Linked DNA regions of Homo sapiens: regions 1, 2 and 3 are each linked to region 4. The links are contacts of gene promoters, found by promoter capture Hi-C in human tissues and cell types (Jung and others, 2019). All regions are on one chromosome and are shown on one strand. Each heading gives the region's core, a stretch centred on a gene start or on the middle of the fragment in contact. The rest is flanking DNA. Distances are from core to core; before and after follow the strand shown. Region 1 overlaps CIB4 (calcium and integrin binding family member 4). Region 2 overlaps OTOF (otoferlin). Region 3 overlaps CIB4 (calcium and integrin binding family member 4). Region 4 holds the start of OTOF (otoferlin).

The links. Contacts are between HindIII fragments. The study calls those that stand out against the background at their distance.
Region 1: a fragment that was not itself captured here is called in contact with the fragment with the promoter of OTOF in region 4 in 2 of the 25 tissues and cell types used here (bladder and pancreas).
Region 2: a fragment that was not itself captured here is called in contact with the fragment with the promoter of OTOF in region 4 in 1 of the 25 tissues and cell types used here (neural progenitor cells).
Region 3: a fragment that was not itself captured here is called in contact with the fragment with the promoter of OTOF in region 4 in 2 of the 25 tissues and cell types used here (bladder and pancreas).

The regions. Positions count from the first base shown.
Region 1 is chr2:26,620,466-26,626,168 of GRCh38, reverse strand. All of the region lies in intron 3 of CIB4 (calcium and integrin binding family member 4), which reads left to right. Among named protein-coding and RNA genes, the nearest start is that of CIB4, 18 kb to the left of the region's middle. The HindIII fragment of the contact is 7,786 bases long and covers 343-5,703 here.
Region 2 is chr2:26,519,481-26,524,579 of GRCh38, reverse strand. All of the region lies in intron 3 of OTOF (otoferlin), which reads left to right. Among named protein-coding and RNA genes, the nearest start is that of OTOF, 37 kb to the left of the region's middle. RefSeq lists a silencer at 3,120-3,285. The HindIII fragment of the contact is 6,873 bases long and covers 295-5,099 here.
Region 3 is chr2:26,590,048-26,595,312 of GRCh38, reverse strand. It overlaps CIB4 (calcium and integrin binding family member 4), which reads left to right. Exons shown (of 7, transcript NM_001029881.3): 4 at 1-137. Among named protein-coding and RNA genes, the nearest start is that of CIMIP2C, 30 kb to the right of the region's middle. RefSeq lists enhancers at 2,978-3,721, 3,722-4,466. The HindIII fragment of the contact is 4,031 bases long and covers 1,378-5,265 here.
Region 4 is chr2:26,555,520-26,560,450 of GRCh38, reverse strand. It overlaps OTOF (otoferlin), which reads left to right and starts at 1,695. Exons shown (of 47, transcript NM_194248.3): 1 at 1,695-1,958. The coding sequence starts at 1,880. RefSeq lists enhancers at 748-1,540, 1,541-2,334. The HindIII fragment of the contact is 11,571 bases long and covers 1-4,931 here.

The DNA.
Region 1 (5,703 bases), core at 2,986-5,485, 63 kb before region 4:
GCAAATAGACTTCAGCTAACTATACTATAAGGCTACAGTAACCAAAACAGCATGGTAAAGGTACACAAACAGACATGTAGACCAATGGAACAGAATAAAGAACCCAGAAATAAGGCCACACACCTACAACCATCTGATCTTTGACACACAACAAAAATGAGCAATGGGGAAAGAATTCCCTATTCAATAAATGATGCTGGGAGAACTGGCTAGCCATATGCAGAAAATGTGAAACCAGATGCCTTCCTTATACCTTATACAAAAATTAACTCAAGATAGATTAAAGATTTAAATGTAAAACCCCAAACCATAAAAACCCTAGAAGAAAATGTAGTCAATGCCGTTTAGGGCATATGCATGGGCAGAGATTTCATGATGAAATTGCCAAAAGCAATTGCAACAAAAGCAAAAATTGACAAATGGGATCTAATTAAACTAAAGAGCTTCTGCACAGCAAACAAAACTGTCTGTGCAAGTCCGGGTGGGAAGCAGTGGGGGGGTGGAGCCTGTTTTCCACAGGTGGGCACAGTGGCTCACGCCTGTAATCCCAGCACTTTGGGAGGCCGAAGCGGGTGGATCACCTGAGGTTGGGAGTTCGAGACCAGCCTGATTAACATGGAAAAACCCCGTCTCTACTAAAAATACAAAATTAGCCGGGCATGGTGGCACATGCCTGTAATCCCAGCTATCTGGGAGGCGGAGGCAGGAGAATCGCTTGAACCCAGAAGGCAGAGGTTGTGGTGAGCTGAGATTGCGCCATTGCACTCCAGCCTGGGCAACAAGGGCGAAACTCCATCTCAAAAAAAAAAAAAAAAAAAAGGCTGTCCTTAGGAAAGGCCTCGCTCTAGGTGGTCCCAGACATAGGTCCAGGTACAAGCACATGCAGGTTTCTCCACAATACAAGTAAACACTCCCTAACTGCCAGCGCTATGCACAGAGGGAATGCGCTTTCTGTCACTGACGGGTGTTCTAGCATCCTTCGGTCTCAAAAAGAGATTGGACCGATGATCTGGTGCCCTCCTCACTCTCTGAGTCTGTGGTTCTGGCCCTAGGACTTGGTCTTACTCTCTTTTGTGGTGTGCCATCTACCACAGTATGTCCCAGACTTACAAAAAAATTTGTGGGTACATAGTAGGTGTATATATTTATGGGGTACATGAGATGTTGTGATGCAATGCGAAATAAGCACATCGTGGAGAATGGGGCATCCATCCCCTCAAGCATTTATCCTTTGAGTTACAAATAATCCAATTACCCTCTAAGTTATTTCCAAATATACAATTATTATTGACTATAATGCCTATATAAAAAAAATATATATATATATACACCATAATACCTTGTTGTGCTATCCAATAGTAGGTCTTATTCATTTTTTCTATTTTTTTTGTGTGTACCCATTAACCATCCCTGCCTGCCCCGCCCCCCACCCTCCCACTAAACTTCCCAGCCTGGTCCCAGACTTTTTATTCAAAAACAAAATCTTTTTTTGAGGCAGGACTAGAGATGCCAACTTTCAGTTTTGCCAAGTAAGGACATTAAAAAAAATATGTCATCCACTGTCAGTGACCATCATTTTATTTTAAAGAAATATTAATTTTAAAACAAAAATGTAAGAAGCCTCGAGTGTTTTCAGACACACCCCCTTTTGTCCGTATTGTTCTCCGTTTGTCACCTGTTGTCAAGAACTTTGTCACTGGCTCATCCCTAGTGCTCAGACCAGCTTTTGGAGACCTAGAGCGAGGACTAAAGATTCCTTCTGTGTCTTTCCGATTCTGGACAAAGCAGAAGCCTTGCTTCCCAAAATGAGCAAGGAGAGGCTTGCTGGGAGGTGGGGGCCCGGCTGTGCCTGCATCCTCTGTGGCCGCAAGGACGGGAGCTGCGTGACTCACACTGCCCAGAACACGTCTCTGGAATAGGCTTTGAGAACTGGGCCCCAGGGAGCTCTGGGTACTGATATAACTTGGCTCAGGGGCTTGAGTGGTCTGGGAAGAAAGCTTTGTTTTCTTAACTTGGGTTCACTCGTGGAAAAAGCGGGCTTGGGAATATTGGGAAGGGTCTGCCTATCAGTGGAGAACAAGGCGAGAGAACATCCTGGGTAGCAGGAAAAGCCTGCTGACCAAAATGTCCCGCACGGGGACAGGACACAGTGCCCCCTTTCCACTCAGCAGTTTCTGTTTTCTTTTTGTCTGATGGATTTGGTGTATTTAAAAGTGTATTAGCTCAATGTTTCTGTTCTTGTAAATAATTATCTTGCTTTCTGTAAACACAGATGAGTGTGGCATGGTGTGACTTGGGTTTCTAGTTTCCGAGCCCAGAGCTGTAGTTGCATCCACTGGGGATGGCTGGAAACAGGGCCTAAAGGAAGATCGCAGGGCCTTGGAGCAGGTAGGGTGGAGGCCTGCACACTGGCGGGGCCACCTCACCCCCCTGGCCTCTTCCCTCCTCCTGCTCCGGGCTTCCTGCTGGCAGATGGTCTTCGCATAGACCCGCCCCTGCTACATTTTATTCCATCTGTTACAGAGCAGAGAGGTTTGGAAACCTGCCCAAGGTGTAGGGAGGTATGGTCAGGATGGCCCCTAAGGTTTCAGCTCCATCTCGGTTTCTATGTATCTCCCAAAGTTTTCCGAGCCTTTCTGAGTCCTGCTTAGAACTAGTTCCTATCTGCTTAGAACAGCTTGCAAAGAACTCACTCCCAAGGCTGAAAGCGATGAAAAGTCCTGAAATTTACTCAGCCTTTCAAGAAATCCTAAAAGTAGGTGGGGTGGGAATGGTAGTGTATTTTTAAAAATTTAATATTTATTTTATTATTTATTTATTTATTTTGAGACAGGGTCTCACTCTGTTGCCCAGGTTAGCGTGCAGTGGTGTGAACACGGCTCCCTGCAGCCTCAATCTCTGGGGCTAAAGCGATCCTCCTGCCTCAGCCTCCCGAGTAGCTGGAACCACAGGCATGTACCACCACACCCAGCTAATTTTTGTGTTTTTCATAGAGATGGAGTCTTGTCATGTTGTCTGGTTGGTCTTGAATGCCTGGGTTTAAGCAATTCTCCTGCCTCAGCCTCCCAAAGTGCTGGGATTAGAGGCATGAACCACCATACCTAGCCTTAATTTTTATTCTAATTAAAAAAAATTTTTTTTAGTTTTTATCATTTATTTATTTATTTATTCTTATTTATTTTTTTTGAGATGGAGTCTCACTCTGTTGCCCATGTTGGAGTGCAGAAGCACCATCTCAGCTCACTGCAACCTCTGCCTCCCAGGTTCAAGCAATTCTTCTGCCCCAGCCTTCTGAGTAGCTGGGATTACAGGCGCGTGCCGCCATGCCTGGCTAATTTTTGTATTTTTAGTAGAGATAGGGTTTCTCCATGTTGGCCAGGTTGGTCTTGAACTCCTGACCTCAAGTGATCTGCCCACCTCGGCCTCCCAAAATGCTGGGATTACAGGTGTGAGCCACCTCACCTGGCCTTTTTTTTAAGTTTTTAAATCAAAATTATTCATGTGTGCCAGGAGTTAAGTTGCCCTATGAGGGTTGCCACATTTCCTCTTCTCAAAGGCAACTATTTTCAGCTCTTGGCTGATTCTTTCCTTATTTGCCTCCATGTCTTTAAAGAGCACCTTGTATTACCCCTTCTTGATAGTTCAGCCTTTGACTTCCCCTAAGAAGAGCTAAAGCTCTTCCCCTCCCCAACACCCATCCTATTCCTCACTCCTTGTTCCCCTGCCCTCCCAATATAGTTACATGATAGTTTGGGGGAGATCAATAGTCAATGTTTTGTATTATTATTATTTATTATTATTATTTTTTGAGATGGAGTCTTGCTTTGTCGCCCAGGCTGGAGTACAGTGATGCGATCTCGGCTCACTGCAACCTCTGTCTCTTGGGTTCAAGCAATTCTCCTACCTCAGCCTCCCAAGTAGCTGGGATTACAGGTGCCCGCCACCATGCCCAGCTAATTTTTGCATTTTTAGCAGAGACAGGGTTTCACCATGTAGGCCAGGCTGGTCTCGAACTCCTGACCTCAGGCGATCCACCCGCCTCGGCCTCCCAAAATGCTGGGATTACAGGCGTGAGCCACCATGCCTGGCCTCAATGTTTTGTATTATTATGACTGCATACACTGTTCAGAGCTGAGTCATGAAATAAGCTGTAGTTACTTTCCCTTTCTGTGTAGTTTTGTTTATTTTTCCTGGATGTCATCATTGTTTTTGCTTAGTTGTCTATGTACTTTTCATTGAAATGACACCAAACCTCTGCCAATCTTCTAAGTCTTCTCCAAAGGCATTTAGAAGTGAGAAGTTTCCTGTACATTTCCTTTTCCTAGCAAAATTTCTCTTGGAGCCTTCTAACATTCTCTAACCAGGACTGGGTTGCCCTCTGAGCCTGGTATATGTTACCACCTTGGGATCTCCTTTCATGACCATCTCAGATTCTTCTCACCACTCTCTTGGGTCTTGCATTTTCTGTTTTCATGTCTCTCCATTTACTCCCCTTCTTTTGGTGGAGCACATCCTCTGGTAGCTTTCTGATAAAGGCTGCATGGAGATAAATGTTTTTACAACTTACATATCTGAAAATGTCTTTTTCTCCTCTCATACTTGACTGATAATTTACCTATTTATTTATTTTTTGTAGAGATAGGGTCCCACTATGTTGCCTAGGCTGGTCTTGATCTCCTGGGCTTAAGTAATTCTCCTGCCTCAGCCTCCCAAAGTGCTGGGATAACATGTGCATGCCACTGAAACTGGCCTTTGACTGAGAGTTTAGATGGAATTGTAGGTTGGATATCATTTTTCTTTAGAATTTGGAAAGCATCACTTAATTGCATTTTAGCTTTCACCGTTGTTATTGAGAGGTCCAAAGCCTTTCTGTTTCCTGATCTTTTTTCATTCCCTGTTTTTTTTTTTTTTTTTTTCCTGGAAACTTGTAGACTCTTCTCTTTTATTTTACTACTCTGATATTCCCAACAATAATTGTTGGCACGAGTCCTTTCCCCTGTGTGTGAGGCACGCGGAGGACCCACTCAGTCTGGAAACTCATGTCCTTCAGCTCTGGGGCCTTTCCTTTAATTATTTCATTGATAACTTTCTCCCTTCTGTTTTCTTTGTCCTTTCTTTCTGGAACTTTAATATTCTGATGCTGTACATCCTAGATTGGTCCTTTATTCTCTGTCTTTTCTCTCCTACTTTTCATCTTTGCCTTTTTGCTCTTCTTTCTGGAAGATTTCCTCCACTTTATCTTCAACTCTAATAGGGTTTTTCACTTCTGCCATCATGCGTTTAGTTTCCAAGAGCTCATTTTTGTTCTCTGATCTTTCTCGTTTTTGTAGCGTCCTCTCCTTTTTCCTTTAAGGTGCTTTTCTCACTTGTTTGTTTGGGTCCTTGGCTTGCGCGTCAGAAGCCTTCCTCAGATATCTGGTCATCAAGGGCTCATGATGATGACTGAAGGGTGGTTGCTAAAAAGCTGTTTTAAAGCTGAAGTCCCTAGGTGGGATTTATCAACTGGGAGCTTCACTGAAGGGCGATCTGAGGGGTCATTTTGAGGATTCTCTAGAAAAATGGAGAGTAAAATTCTGCCTGCTAGCATCCTAGAGCCATGTTAGGAAAGAGGGCTGGTGAGGTCTCAGAGTTCAGCACCTGTATGTTTATTCACTCCCCAGTTCTCAACCATGTCTGACGTCCCCCGTGGAGAAAGCCTCTGCT
Region 2 (5,099 bases), core at 2,482-4,981, 38 kb after region 4:
TTGACTCCCATGCAGTGAATATGTTGAAAGTTACAGCTTCTATTAGGTGTTTTTGGTTTTTGTTTTGTTCAGAGACAGAATCTCACTCTGTCACCCAGGCTGGAGTGCAGTGGCCTAGTCTCGGCTCATTGCAACCTCTGCCTCCTGAGTTCAAGTGATTCTCATGTCTTGGCCTCCCGAGTAGCTGGGACTACAGGTGCATGCCACCAGGCCTGGATAATTTTTGTATTTTTAGTAGAGACAGGGTTTTCCCCATGTTGGCCAGGATGGTCTCGAACTCCTGGCTTCAGGTAATAGACCTGCCTCAGCTTCCCAAAGTGCTGGGATTACAGGTGCCAGCCACCAAATCCAGCCTGTATTAGATGTTCTTAAGTGCCAATAAGAAGGAAGACAGAAAGGGGAATAGTTCCTATCCTAACTCTCCTCTTCTTCCCTCCCTGCCCCCATCCAAGAGAAGGCAGGAAACCCCACAAGGGGAGGCCCAGGCCTGGTGGGAGAGGTTCTGGCATTTCTTTGGAAGCCTAGAGAATGCCCAGGGCACTGCTGGCTGCAGAGCTGAGATGGGAAAGAAGAGGTCCCCTTGTGGAGAGCACAGGCCCAGGCTGACACAGGCCAGCTTGTGGGGGTCAGAGTGGGAGAGAGGTGTTTGGAATGATGTGAGACTCAAGTCTCCCCATCCTGGCATTTGCCTGGGCCAGGCCAGAGGAGCAATGAGGCCACTGCCCTCAACCCCCACATGGCCCAGTTCAGACCCCAGGCTCCTTCTCATGGGGCAGCTGAGTGGAAGGGGTCTTTGGGGTCTGCACTAGGCTTAGCAATGAGCAAAGCCATGGCCACTGCTGGGGACAGTGCCTGGCACATGGCAGGCTCCTGATTATTTTGTGGAATAAAAGAATGAATAAATGCCCCTGTGGTGTTAGGAGGCAGAGGGTAGGTATACAAGGTGGGAGAGCCTTTGAGAGGGAATCGGAGTGGCCCCTCTTCTCTGAAGGACTCAGGGCACTCAAGGGTGACACTCAGCATCACATGACCGATGCATTTGGGGAAATTGAGCTAAAAGAGGCATGGAGGAGCTGCCTGGGAGAGTGGGTCCCAGGACGAGAAATGAGCCTGATCCCATCACTGCCATCTCAGAGAGAGAGACTTGTCCTAGAAGCAGAGAGTAGCTTGGAAACTGGCCCCTCACCCAGTGGTTCTAGAGGCTGCCAGGAGGCAGAGACATGGTATGAAGGAAGGAGGCATCCTAGGCAGAAACCAGGAGACCTCCAGGTCTGCTTGGCCCCGTTTGGAACAAAGACCTGTGTCCAGGAACCTTGGGCTTCCCCATGAGAAAGAAATGTTCGGTTCAGAAGATTTTGTGCATCCAGCTCTGCCTGTCCGGGACCTCTGAGGGTCCATGGCCTGGCCTCCAGCCTCCTGCCTGCTAAGGATGCCAGGGACCCTGAATAATTCAGGAGCCAGGACAGCAGGAGAGGCCTCGCAGGGCCCAGGACACCTGACACGGGCTCCCAGGGGAAAGTGATGAATTATTGACAGGATTCTGGTGCCCAGTTGCCGCTCTATTGTGATCAGTCTGTGGGCCCATCTGGGCTGGAGGCCTTTTCCTGCCGGCTAATTACGTGGGGATCTTAGCTCTGCCCAGCCGCCCAGCCCCTCGTGGGGCCAGACAGCCTCCTGTGAGGGGTGTCCTCTTTGCCATGGTGACCTGGATGGCCCTGTAAGGCAAGTAGTCAGAGGACATGGAGTTAGCCCCAGATCCTTTGCCTGACAGCCCCAGGGAAACTGAGGCCCAGAGAGGCCTCTTGTCCAGGGTCACACAGCAGGTTCAGGACAGTCAGGTCTTCACCCCAGGCCTCCTGACACCCGGGCCAGTGCTCCTTCCCACAGAACACATGGCCTCACAACTCCATTTCTAGGGAAATGACTCAGCTGTCTAAGGAGCATATGAGCCCACCCTTCCTCAATCGTCCTGGGCCCCACTCTCCCAGGCAGCTCCTCCATGCTGACCCATGCAGAGGAGTAAGAACCTACTATGTGTGCAGCCAGGATGCACAAAGGCCAGCTGCGGCGGGCAGGGTCGCCTCTGGGGTCACCACAAGGGCCAGAGCCAGGGGCTTCTCCTACCTCTTCCTGTCCCAGCTTCTTCCCAAAGAATATCTATAGAAGACGGGCTGAGGGATGGCATCCTAGAAGCAGTGCCAGGGCCTTTGTTTTGAAACTGTTTTCATGGCAAGCACTGTGTTTTTGCTTAAATGGTATGTTACAGACCTGTAGAAAGAGTCAAGGTTTATAAAACTGCTTTTCTTTATACTTTACATAAGGCTGAGATAATATCAATTGTCCATGTCAAAAAATATAATTTTTACTTTTATTTGAGAGAGGTTGGGGGGTGAACTGTTAGGAGTTAAAACCCCCCAAGCCACTCTTGGAGGTGTGGCAAATTGATTCCTTTAATCTTGCAAGCTCCTAGCGTCCCAGTCCCACCCTCCAGGCCATAGACAAGCTCTGGCTGTGCGAGGCTGTGCACAGCTTGAAGGGTGGGGGACTGCCTGGACCTGCCCCTGAAGCCCATCCTGCAAAGGAGACTCGCCCTGTGTAGGCTCTCCAGATGGCCAGCCCTGCTCATTATTAGGGAGGGAGGAGGGGCTGGCATCCGAGTGCCGGTGTTGGTAGAGGAATTTCACATGAGCAGTCTCCTCACCACTGTCCGGTGGAAGTCGGAGGGCTATAGCAGAAGGAGCCAAAACCACACTGCTGCCAGGAGGTGGAATCTCCCTTGGGTCCTGCTGAGTGAGCCCACATCTGTCTGACTCCAGAGCCCAGGCTCCTCACTGTCTACACCGCTTCCCTTTAGGGATGGAATTAATCTGCATGTGGACAGGGCTTGGACCAGGGTAGGAAGAGTAGGGGATTTGCCTGGAGGCCAATCTTGCTCAGCACACTGTGTGATTAAGGCAGTGGCTGAATGGACTACCAGTGACAGCCCCATCACTGTCACCACCACCGGAGTATCTAGCAGGGACTTAAAAGCACATGTCAGGGAGGTTGTTTCAGGGATTCCTCCTGGAAGGGGCGCTGGACAAGGTCTCTCAGGTTCTTCCCAAGTATAAGATCTGAGATTCAGGCAGGTTAAGCCTAGAAGGCACCAGACGCCTCTGTGAGCACTTGCAGGGGGAATAGCTCCACCCTGCCCCCTGGGAGTGTCTTGTCACATTGCAGCACCTCTGCGGATCCTGGGGAGCTGCCTTGGCTGTTCTTAGGCATCTAATTCTGGAGAAAGATGTGCCTGATCGCCCCACGCTCAACAGGTGCTCGACAGGTCCTAGGGGAATCAAGGCAGCTGAATAGCCATCCACAAAGGGTAATAGTAGAGCAGGGATTCTCAAAGTGTCTCCCCAGCCAGCAGCTTCAGCATCACCTGGAAACTTGTCAGAAATACACATTCTCAGGCCCTCTCCCACCCACTGAATCAGAGCCCTGGGGTCGGGGCCAGTGGTGTGAACTGAAGTCCGGTGGACCCAGTTTGGTGACTTCACATTAGAAGCTTGAAGTTGGCCATGGCGGGAGTATTTATATCTCAGAAACCAGCAAATGCTACAGATGAGCACCTCTCCTCTCCCACCAGTGACACATTTTCCAGCATATCCACAGAAGAGGATATCCCAGCCGTGCATGTTTTCACAAGCCCTCCAGGTGATTCTGCTCATGCTGAAGTTTGAGAACCACTGATTTAGAACAAAAAGGGGTGAGGCTGCAAAAAGATGAGTGTATTTTTTCGTGCCCGTGGTCTACTGTTAGAATGTCTACATGGTACGGAAGCTAAAAGTCCCCTTCCCTCTTCATTTTATAAAGACCAAATTGAGACTCAGGGGCAGCAGCTCCAGGGCTCCTGGCCCCCAGCCCAGCACTTCTGTCTCTGGGGCACTGCCTGAGCTGGGAGAGGTGCATGCAGCTATGGAAGAAGGCTTCCATGGGCTGCTCTAAGGGCCCAGAAGCCCAGTTCGGCTTTAGAGTGAAGGAGTGGCGTGGTCAGTTTCATCCTCAGGGAGGTGGGGCACAATGGTGGTTGGGGCTCTGAGCTCCAAAGGGGAGCATTTCATATCCATTCCTCATGGCTGCCCCTACCACTTCCTCCCCTCACACAGATGGGAAGATTTTTAAAAAATCAATGTTCACCCTCCACAGACCTCAGGGTGGTAGAGACATGAAGCATGTCTGAGTCAGAATTCATCTGATACCTCACCTCACCCAGATCTACCATTAATTAGCTGTGTCCCTTCCCCTTCCATGGCCTCACTGTCTTCCTCTATAAATCTCAGGCAGCATCAGATGATGCCCAAGGTCCCTTCCAGCTCTCACACGCCCTGGATGCTTCCCTCCCCTTTGTGCCTTCAGCTAGAAATGGTGTGTGTATTCTAATCCACTCTATGTGGAAGCACCATGTAAGAACGTCTGTCTGAGTTCCCTGTTCTCTCCCAGAGCAACAAACAGCCTTCTGACTGTGGGGTGCAATGGGGTTGAAGTCAACTCCATCAGCATTTATTGGGCACCCACTGTTGTTCATTAATTCAGCCAGCAGATATTGAGATCTCTAGTGTGCTAGAAATGTCAAACAGAGGCTAGAATAAAAAGCACCACCCATGCCCTTGAGAGGTTCACAGTTTAGAGGCAGTACATGAATCACGACAAAACGGACTGCTTTGGAGTGCTGGCTGTGTGCTGGGGGCTTTGACAAGAACACTCGCAGATGATCTCATTCAGTCCTCCAACAACAACTCTGTGAAGTAGGGCTTATCAGCTCATCTTATGAGAAAACCGACACTGAGAGAGCTTAAGGAAGTTGCCCAGGAAGCAGGTAGCTTGCTAGTCAGTGTCAGAGCTGGGTTCAGATCCCTGTCTCTTTGATGCCAGGACTGTGCTGTTAACCAAAGCATTGCACCGCCTCTCCCCTGCTGTGCAGTTCCATGGGCTCTGCCATCACACAGGTTCCTGCCATCCAGGAACTTACAGGCTGCAGATGTGGAATGGATGAGTGAGTGCTGTTGGTGTGGGCTGGAAACCTTGGTCATGGTTAGGCGGGTAGAAGCCGGAGGAGCTAC
Region 3 (5,265 bases), core at 2,144-4,643, 33 kb before region 4:
CCCTTTCAGAGACCGTATCTGCAGAGTGTTCTCCCACAAAGGCATGTTCTCCTTTGAGGATGTGCTGGGCATGGCATCTGTGTTCAGCGAGCAGGCCTGCCCAAGCCTGAAGATTGAGTATGCCTTTCGCATCTATGGTAGGTGCTGTGGGGGACTGAGGGGTGAGGGGTGGAAAGGCCATAGAGAACATACCGTATCTGGACTCCATCATCAGTTCATTGATGGATGGCATTAACTGGGGTGTGCTTGGGTATCTGTGGGTCTGTGTCATATTTTGCATGTACCATGGAATAAAAAAAAAAGATTGAGAATGACAGCATCAATGGACAGACTCCCCTCGGTGTCATCAGAGGGCAATGGGGTCATTGGCGTTGATATTTGCTGGTAGTGTGTGGTGTGTGGGCAGGCGAGAGAGAGAGAGAATCACATATGCATGTAAAGGATTTATGCTTATTTGGCAGAAGGAGCGTTGGATGGGAAGTTAAGAAAATTTGAACAATCTTGGACAAATCGTTTCACCTTTCTGGGGCTCAGTTTTCTCATCTGTAAAATGAGGGGATAGGGAGAGATAATCTCTGAGGCACTTTGACATTTTTTGGTCTCTGTCTCTGTCTCGGGTAGTCACAAGACTCTGCTGAAGTTCTGCTCTTCACCAGGCAAATGTCTGCTTAGCACAGCTGGGATGCAAGGGAATTCTCAAAAGGAATCAAAAGGAAAGAAAGAAGTCTTAAGATGCTTTCAAACAAACCAGGTGCAAGTCTTCAGTGCATCCTGATAACTTTTTGGCCCCAAAGGACTTGCACATTTAGACTTGCTCATTCGCATCTCACGTTCCTTCCTTTCCTGCCAGCTCCTCCCCAGTCTCCACATGGTGGACTCCATCTCATTTCTGCCTCACCCAAGTGGGATGTGGATAGAAGACAGTAGAAGAGCTTTAAGCCAGAGGGACCTATGAGGCCTCAGTTTTTTCATCTGTAAAAAGGACTTAATATTTTTTATCTCATATGTCCTCAGGTTCAGCATTTGGTAAGCACACATGAAATCACAGAGTCCCCTCCTGAGAATGGCTGAGTAAACTCCTATCATAGGTCACTCCTGCAGATAGCAACTATAAAACTCTACATATAAAAATCAACTAGCTGATGGCATTGGAAAGCTACCAAAAGCGAGATGTGTTCTAGAGAGATCTGATGCCTGGAAGAAGGAAACGGTAGTGGATGGGTTTTCCTTCACCCACTTTTTTTATTTTTAACTTTTTTATCCTGAAGGTAGGCTTCAGTGAGTGGAAACACTGGACTCAGGCAGGCTGATGGAAACACTGGATTCTTTCTGACTTGAAAAGCCAGAGAGTTTGGGGCACACACAGCCCCTACAAAGTGAGGGAGAGCCTATGAAAGAGAAAGGGAGTCCAAATGTTGTGTGTAAACTACGCCCATATCTCTTTCTGACCTCTACACCACATACACGAGGGCAAACTCAAAGCAGCTCAGCTAAGGATAAAAGAACTAAACTGAGATTTGAGCTGCCACCACATTTTAACCAGATCCATGAGTGACAGGGTTTGCACTTTGAGTCGAAATCAATTGCCTGCTAAAACCAAAAATTCAGCAATCTTTGGAGAAATACAGAGTGTCTACAACAAAACATTTATAATATCCAAGAAGCTATTCAAAATTGTACACAATGTACAAAAATTTGTTTTCATTGATGAATTCTCAAGAATGGAGACTGACTGACATGACCTAGATGTTGGAATTAGCTAATAAAGATTTAAAATTAGCTATTATAACTGTATTAGTCAGGATTCTGCAGAGAAACAGAACCAATAGGCTATTTATATGTGTATATGTATGTGAGTGTATGTGTGGGTATATATAGTGTGTATATATATGTGTGTGTATATATGTGTGTGTATATATGTGTGTGTGTATATGTGTGCGTGTGTATATATGTATATGTATATATGTATATATACACACACACACATATACACACACACACACACATATCTCTACATATATATCTAGAAAGAGAGAGAGATTTATTCTAGGAACTGGCTCATGTGATTATGGAGGCTGAGGAGTCCCATCATCTGCTGTCTGCAAGCTGGAAAGCTAGGAAAGGCGGTAGCATAATTCATTCTGAAAGTCCAAGAACCAGGAGCATCAATGTCTGTGGATGGGAGAAGACGGATGTCTCAGCTCAGAGAGTACAAATTCATCCTTCCCCCACCTTTTTGTTCGTTGGACCCTCCATGGATGGAACAATGTCTAATTGGTGAGGACAGATCATCTTTACTCAGCCTATTGATTCAAATGCCAGTCTCTTCCGGAAACACCCTGACAGAGACACCCAGAAAGAATCTGTTGCCAGCTATCCGGGCAACCTTAGCTCAGTCAAATTGACACGTACCATTAATCATCACAATAATCATGCCCAAGGATGTAAAAACTGCTCATAACAAATGAAAAGATAGGAAATCTCAGCAAAGAAGTAGAAACTATAAGAAAGAATCAAATGGAAAATATAGAACTGAAAAATAAAATATCTGAAACAAAAATGCACTGGATGAGCTTAACGAGAGAATTGAGATAACAGAAGAGTCAGGAAACTTGAAGACAGAACAATAGAAATAACTTAATCTGAAGAACAGAGAGAAAAATTATTCAAGGGAAAGGGGAACAGAGCCTCAGAGACGTGCAGGACAATAGAAAGCTCTAACATGTATCTAGGTGGAGTCTGACAAGGAGAGGAGAGAGTGACCGGTGCAGAAAAGATATTTGAAGACATAATGGCCCCAAATGTCCTACATTTGATGTAAGACACAGATTTACAGTGAACTCCAAGCAGGGTATGTAGAAATTAAATCACATACCCAAATTCTGTTGGCTTCATGGGCCCCACCTGTCCACACCAGCGTTCCCCCTTCCTTACCACAAGTATTTCTGGGAGTTTCCATGGGGATCCCAATGCATCCAGGGAGTTGGAGCCCTCTAGCCGCTGCTCCTCTCGGCCAGGCCTCCCACAGGTGGCAGCCGTGCTGGCTCAAGCCCCCATCAGTGCTCTCTGGCTGGGGTCGCTCCTCTGGGAAGATGCCAGCCCAGGCTTGCTGTTTCTGTCTTAGCCAAGAGTCTTTCGGTTGCAAACCACAGAAACTTACCTATGTAAATGCCACTGATAAGAACCAGCACTAGATGAGTTTTCCATTGTGTAAGAAATTACCACAAGCTTAGAGGCTTTAGATTACATACATTAGTAACCTCACAGTTTCTGTGGGTTAGGAGTCCAGGCATCACTTAGTTGGGTCCTCCTCTTAGGGTTTTGCAAGCTGCCATCAAGGTTCTGGCCGGGGTGCCTTCTCACCTGGAGGGCGCTTGACTGGGGGAATCTGCTCATGAGCTTGCCCACGTTGTTGGCAGAATTTACTTCCTTGTGTCTGCAGGACTTAGGGCCTTGACTTCTTGCCGGCTCTCAGCCGGAGGCTGCCCTCAGCTCCTGGACACATGGGCCTCTCAACCTGGCCACTTGCTTCTTTAAAGACAGCCAGGGGGAGAGACTCTTGAGTCACCCCACTGGCAAGATGGAGTCATAAAAGACAGCGTGATGGTGGAGGTGACAGCCCATCACTTTTGCCAAGTTCCATTGGTTACAAGCAAGTCACAGTTCCCACCCACACTCAAGGGGGTTGGGGATTATACGAAAGCCTGAGCACCAAGATGTGTGGCTCTTAGGAGAGAGGTCACTAGAGTTCGTCTGCCAAGAGCACTATGGAGCCCATGGTGGAAGTGAGGCAGGACTCCTGGGGCCCTAGGGCACAGCTGGATGAGAGTCAGGAAGCCAGGCAGCTGCAGTCTCCTCTCCATGGCTGCCTCGTCTCTCATCTCTGCCTCTCTCTGTGGGCTTTCCTTCTCCTTCTGCAGATCTGCTATGCCTCTGTGCCCACAGGCCAAAGATGACTCCCCGGCCCCCACATGGCCTGTAGGCTTCACTCTGAGTAGCCACAAGCATCTCTGTTTCTCCCTTCTGTTTTCTCACCCAGCCAGTGATCTAGCTTCCCCTGGGATAGGTGACCAGCCTTGCCCAATCACCTGCAGCCAAAAAGAAGCAGAGTTGTGAAACAAGCATGGCTCCAGAGGCCTGCCACTGGGGTGGGGACACTTCTCAGAGACGGTAGAGCGTAGGCTGGGCAGAGGCCACAAAAGACGTCTGCCTCCGCTGACTTTCCATGGTTTCCTGAGCTAAACAAACAAAAACACTCAAACCCTTCAGGAGCGAGGTGAGCAGAAGGTTCTCCTTGGGCTTCAAGGCACAAGCTAAATCGTGTTCAGCTGCGACATGGGGAGAACACCCACTGTCCCCAGAGGTCAGACTGAGAGCCTCAGGGTAGATCAAGGACTAGACACCACAATATCCCCCACAATGTCTTTGTATCTTTCTCCCCACTCTCTCTCCAGGCCCCTTGCAGCACAGAGGTTCCTTCCTCCAGCCTCAGCACAAACACAAAAAGTTCAAAGCCTTCATGCAAATCAGCTGTGCAAATAGATGCTCAGGGGCTCATAAATGCCCAGGCTTCATCAGATAGACTCAGACAACCCTGAATTCTCTCTGGGCTCGGAAGGTTTCTTTACAGAGCTGTCAGCAAGATTAGAGATGGGACACGTGGATCCTGAGCCTGCGTAGTAAGTCGAGGGGGGAGTGGTCCACAGTGAAGGATGAAGAAGGATCAAAAAAGAGGGGAAAGGAGACAGAAAGGGAAAGGAGAAGGCGGGCATGGTAACTGTCATGGTGATGATTCCGTCCAAAGACGGAACTCAGTGCTCCGGCCCCTTGCTACCCCCGGTGTGGCCCACAGAGCAGCAGTATCAGCACTGCCAGGAAGCTTATCAGAAATGCAGAGCCCCAGGCCCTACTCCACCCACTGGATCTGAATCTGCATTTTAGCAAGATTCCTCTGTGCTTTAACGTCTAAGAAGCATTGATCTAACCCACTGCTTCTCACACTTGGCTGTACATTGAATCACCTGTGAGTTTTTTTTTTTTTTTTTTTTTTTTTTACAGATGCTTGGGCCCCAGCTCCAGGGACCTGATGGAATGGTATTGGGTATGTCCTGGTCCCTGGGCTTTTTGGAAGCTCCCTGGATGGCTCGAATGAGCAGCAGACTGTGAGAACTGTTGCTCTAAACTGCTGCAGGAGCTAGGGTTGCATTCAGTGATGTGGAGCAGTGGCCATGGTATTACAAAAAAGAAAAAACAAAGTCTGGAGTC
Region 4 (4,931 bases), core at 446-2,945:
GGATCATGGGCTTTTTCCTAAAGATGCACAGGGTCTATAAGAGGCCTCATGAAATTCACTCCTTTCAGGGGAGGACCTCCAGAGAACCAAGGAAGAAGATATTTTCTGTTGTTGTTGTTGTACCTTGTAGTCACCAAGCCTTAAAAACACAGATCACCTGATGACCTCATGGATGGAAAATGCTAGTGAATTTAGGTGTTTTTTTTTTTAAGACATTAAACTTATCTAGCTTTTGAAAATTTAGCATTCATACTTGTATTCAATAAACAGAATACTCTAAGACATTTTTAAATTCAATATGATTAGATAAATGTGAGAAAGGTAAGCAAGAATTGGTTAGGAAAAAGTGCAAAGGAAAAAAACGTAAGTAGAAAAAGAAAAATAGGGCACAGTAGCAAGGAAATATCTAGAAGGAGGAAAGAAGGCTCTTGGGACATACTGTAGGTTATTTGGAATGCAGAATTCAAAAGAAGTAACCTCTTGTTACCATGCTGTGAAAAATTAGTATTTCTCTTTTTAACCTTTAGACTCTGTTTCAGGTAGATCCCTGAGCTCACTCTTTTATCCTTTCAACAGTAATTGGGCATCCTACGGTGCACAGGATACCATGTGGGGCTCTGGGGTAGAGGGATGCTGTGCTCCAGGGCCCTCCTGAGGTCAGGAGGGGAAAAGGCAAGGGAAGCAGCCCCAGGACTCAGTAAGATGAGAGGAGGCAGGAGCAGCACAGAGGAGGACCCCAACCCAGCTGGGGTGCGGGTACAGAGGCACCTCCAGGAGCAGGCACTCAAGCTGAGTCCAGGGTGGGGTGGAGGGCATTCCACCAAGAATGAATAGCAAGAACAAGGCTGCAGATGACCCTGCACAGATTCCAGCATCAGGGATTCTGGCCCCCAGCGTCCCTTTCCTTGGTGTATGCTGCTGGAAGACAGGAGGGGGCAGTTCTCTTTTGGTCCTTAGAAATTTCCCTATAGACATCCCTTCTCCTGCCCCTAGCAGCTTATAACAGCAGAAGGCCATTCAATTCTGCTCCTCTGGCTGGAAAGCAAACATCAGCCTGGCTTACCTTCGCTAGCCTGCCTGACCCCCAGCCTTGGGGTGGGGCTAGGTTAGTGCCCTGGATCCTTAAACATGGCCCCTGGTAGCACATAAGCCTCTGCTGCCTCCACAACCAGCCATCTCCATCATGCATGGCCTGGTCCTGAGCCTCCCCTCAGGCAGCAGCCCCAGCCTCTCTGCTTCCTGAGATTCAGAAACAGGGATCCCAGGGCAGGGCTCAGGGCCCAGCCTCTTGGGGGCACAGTCTCCAGCAGGGAAGAGGTGGGCGTAGGTGGACAAATACATTCCCTTCTTCTTGTAGTGTGCCCCTGTGGGTGGGAGTGCCCCCCGCCCCACATCCACCCTACCTATGCTCATGCCCACTCCTCTGTGCCCACTACTGGTGGCAGGGCTTGCTTAGCAGGGAAGCAGCAGAGCCCTGCAGAGGGGTGGGCAGAGCCTCCCTTCCAGGAGCTGGGAGAAGACACCTGAAGCTGGACAGAGCTTTATCTGGGAGCCGGCGGCTGCTGAATAATGAATTCCAACTCTGCCGCACTCCCAGGCTGCACATTGGGTGCACACACACACACACACACACGCACACACCGATACACACACGCTGGGCTGACAACTTGGAGGGGCGGGGGCTGTGAGGCTCTGTGAGTCGCTGCAGGAGCAGCTTAGCTCGGCTTGGTTGCCTTGGTCTCTGTGGGCAGCATCGGAGGGGGGTCGGGAGGAGGAGGAGGAGGCAGCGGCAGAGAAGAGAGAGGCGTGTGAGCCGTGCTCCACCGGCTAGCTCCTTCCCGCTGCTCCTGCCTGGCAGTGCCAGGCAGCCCACACCAGCATGGCCTTGCTCATCCACCTCAAGACAGTCTCGGAGCTGCGGGGCAGGGGCGACCGGATCGCCAAAGTGACTTTCCGAGGTAGGGAAGCCGCTGTCTCAGAGGGACGCCAGCTCTGAGAGCTGGACCAGCCCATGCTCTGGAGGTGGCCGGGGATAGGACAGGGCTGGGAGGATGGGTGGGAAAAGTTCTAGCAGGGGCTGGGGCGACGAGCCTTTTCACAGGTAGTCATCTGCCTGGGACTGACTGGCCATTGTGATTTCTGGAAAATCAGGGTCCCCTGTTCTTCCATGCCTGTGTCTCCTTGTGCTTGCCAACATGCCAGTTCCCCGGGCAGGGCACAGAGCCCTCTGCCTGGGGAGGCAGAAGTGAGGACCACATCCCTGAGCTCAGGGAGACCCAGGACCCCCTCCTTCTCTCTCTCTCCCTCTCCTGCAGGTTGATTTCCTTGAGCACAGGGTGGGGGCCGGGTATGGAGCCTGGGGCACCCAGGGTGACTGGGAGAAACCAGGCAGCCAGTAGCTCCCTGGGCCCCAGAGTGATGGGGGACACTGTTGGCTTCTTTTAGATCTATTCATGGGCGGGAACCCCGGGAGCCCCTCGCCTCTCTTCTGTCTGGTCTTTTCTCATCCTTTTCACTCCTGTATTCAGCGACCATTTATTATGATCTACTGTGTCCCAAGGATAGGGGTAGAAACACAGAGCTGAGCACAACCCAGCCCCAGCCCCAAGGAGCCTGCATCTGTTGGGCAGGCGTGGAACAAGCAGGACAGGTATGTGAGACAGAAGGTGGGGGTGCAGCATGCAAGCTACAGAAGCAGCACCCTCACCCAGGCTGGTGACCGGTGGTCAGGGAAGGCTTCCCGGAGGAAGTAACACTCAGCTAATACCCGAAGGACCAGCGGGTGGGAGCTAGGAGAGGAGGTAAGGACTGAGGAGGCAGAGGAAACAGTGTGCCCAGAGCTGAGAGAGGAGCTGAAACTCTGGAACTGAAAGAGGTTCCATGTGTCTACAGCTCAGAGAGGGTGCAGGAGCGGAGGCCAGAGAGCCAAGCAGGGCAAGGAGGCGAGGCTGGACCTGACCCCGGGGACAGCGGAGCCCCTGAGCATTTTAAGTGGGGAAAGGCAGGGCCAGGCTGACTCTGTCCTTCACCACCCACCTCTGCCTCTCCATGTGGTTGCTGCCCAGCCCTGAGGGTTGGGGGTACTTCTCACTAGACATGGCCCCTTCTCCCGAGAGAGGGGTCTGAGAGTGGGATGGGGACGAGGTGGTGAGAAGGGGGCAGAGAGGACCCCCCTATACTAAAGAGCAAAGTGAGCCTTGGGGCCCAGGCTGGACACAGTGTCTGCACCTCTGTTGGAAGGGATGGGAGAGACCATTGGCAGAACATTCCAGCAAGAGCCCTGGGGCACCCACATCACCTACCCAGAGGCCCTGGGATGCCCACATTGCAGCTTGTGTTCATAGGGACAGGCAGGGGTGGAGGTGATGGCAGTGGCCCTGCCGGCAGGCGGAGGTTAGGCAGGAGGGAGAGGGAGGTGTGGGCTGGGCTGCCTTTTGCCTCCCACCCCAACCCACTGACTGCTTTCTCTGCAGCACCCTGGATCTCCCTCTGTGTGCCACCTGCAGGCTCATGCTGGCTTTAGAAAAAGCAAATGTGTCCTTTCATCTGTGAAATGTGGCCCTGAGCTCCACGGGCAGCATAGTGTGGGGCGGTTAAGCTACAGGTTGCCATCCTGCTGCAGCTGTGCTGGAACGGTCCAGGCTGCACCGGACAGGCCCACTTGCAGGCCGAGAAACCAAGGTTCAGGGGTAGAACACTGCGCGTGGCATTCACGGAGGAGCTGAGGCACGGTGGTCCCAGCTCTCAGGACCTCATCCTGAGTACTCAATCTTGCAAGCTCTTTATCTGCTCCTGGGCCACCTGGGGGCCAGCACCTTGTCTGACACCCATCTTCTCCTTGGAGCAGTGAAGGGCTGGGCCTTTAGCCTCACTGACCACACAGGAATTAGTTTATTTGCAACCCTTGCTCTCTGGACTGAGTGGAGAAATCGCTTCCAAGCTCCACATTGGCAGGAGGTGGCCATGGGCAGAGCTCCTGGGGAAGGGGGCTGGGCAGCAGGAATAGGCAGATGACAAGCAGTTTCCAGAAAGTACCTTTATTACAACGAAAGATGCCTCAGCCGCTCACCTGTGTCATCTAGCAGTTCACAGTTGTAGGCGCCCCAAAAGACCAACACTGACCACAATTCAGAGGGAATGGACCCGCTCTACAATGTTCCTTAGCATCTCCCAGCACATGCAACCACTGGGGGCCAAGCAAGTCCTCTGCAGGGGGAAACAAGAAACTGGTAAACACGCAGAGGGAGACACTGGCCCCAGGCTCCCCAAGGCTTTTGAGTGAAAGTCAATGCCGGGGGAGGTGGTGAGGGAGCCCTTGGTGAGCTGTGCCCATTGGCAGTGGCCCTAGGTAGGCCAGAGCAGCTGGTTGAAATATGGCTTGACCTTCTGTGCTGTGCCATCCAAGACACTAAGGAAAGAGCCCTCCTGGGCTATTGTGGAAAAAGTTCTGGATATGGAGTCAGAAGCCCTAGATCCTACCTGGGTTCTGCCACTCACCCTCAGTTTCCTCATCTGTAAAATGGGCATGATAATAACACTCACTTCACTAGATTGCTTCAGGGAAACCATAGGTATGGAAGAGTTTGTGGGAAGAGTATTCAAATGGTCGATGTGTTTGTGAGGCAGCCATTCCCATTCTCCTTGGGAGCAGCTGCTGGCCCCTGAGGTATCTTCTCTCCAGACCAGCAGAGGGCCCCATGTGAGATATAAAGGGAAGAGGAGAGCACGTCTAAGGGGTTCCAGTCTGCCAGGAGAAGGCAGAGAGCCTGGACTCTGCTCTGTAGGAGCCTCTGCTGAGATGTTCCGCAGGAACCCAGGCAGGCAGACCCCCGAGACTCCTGTTCTCATCTGGCTGGGTGTGCACCAGCTTTGCCCGTGGCCACCTCTTTTCCCACTGCCCTCAGGCCAGTCGGCCCCTCGGTCAGTGCTCC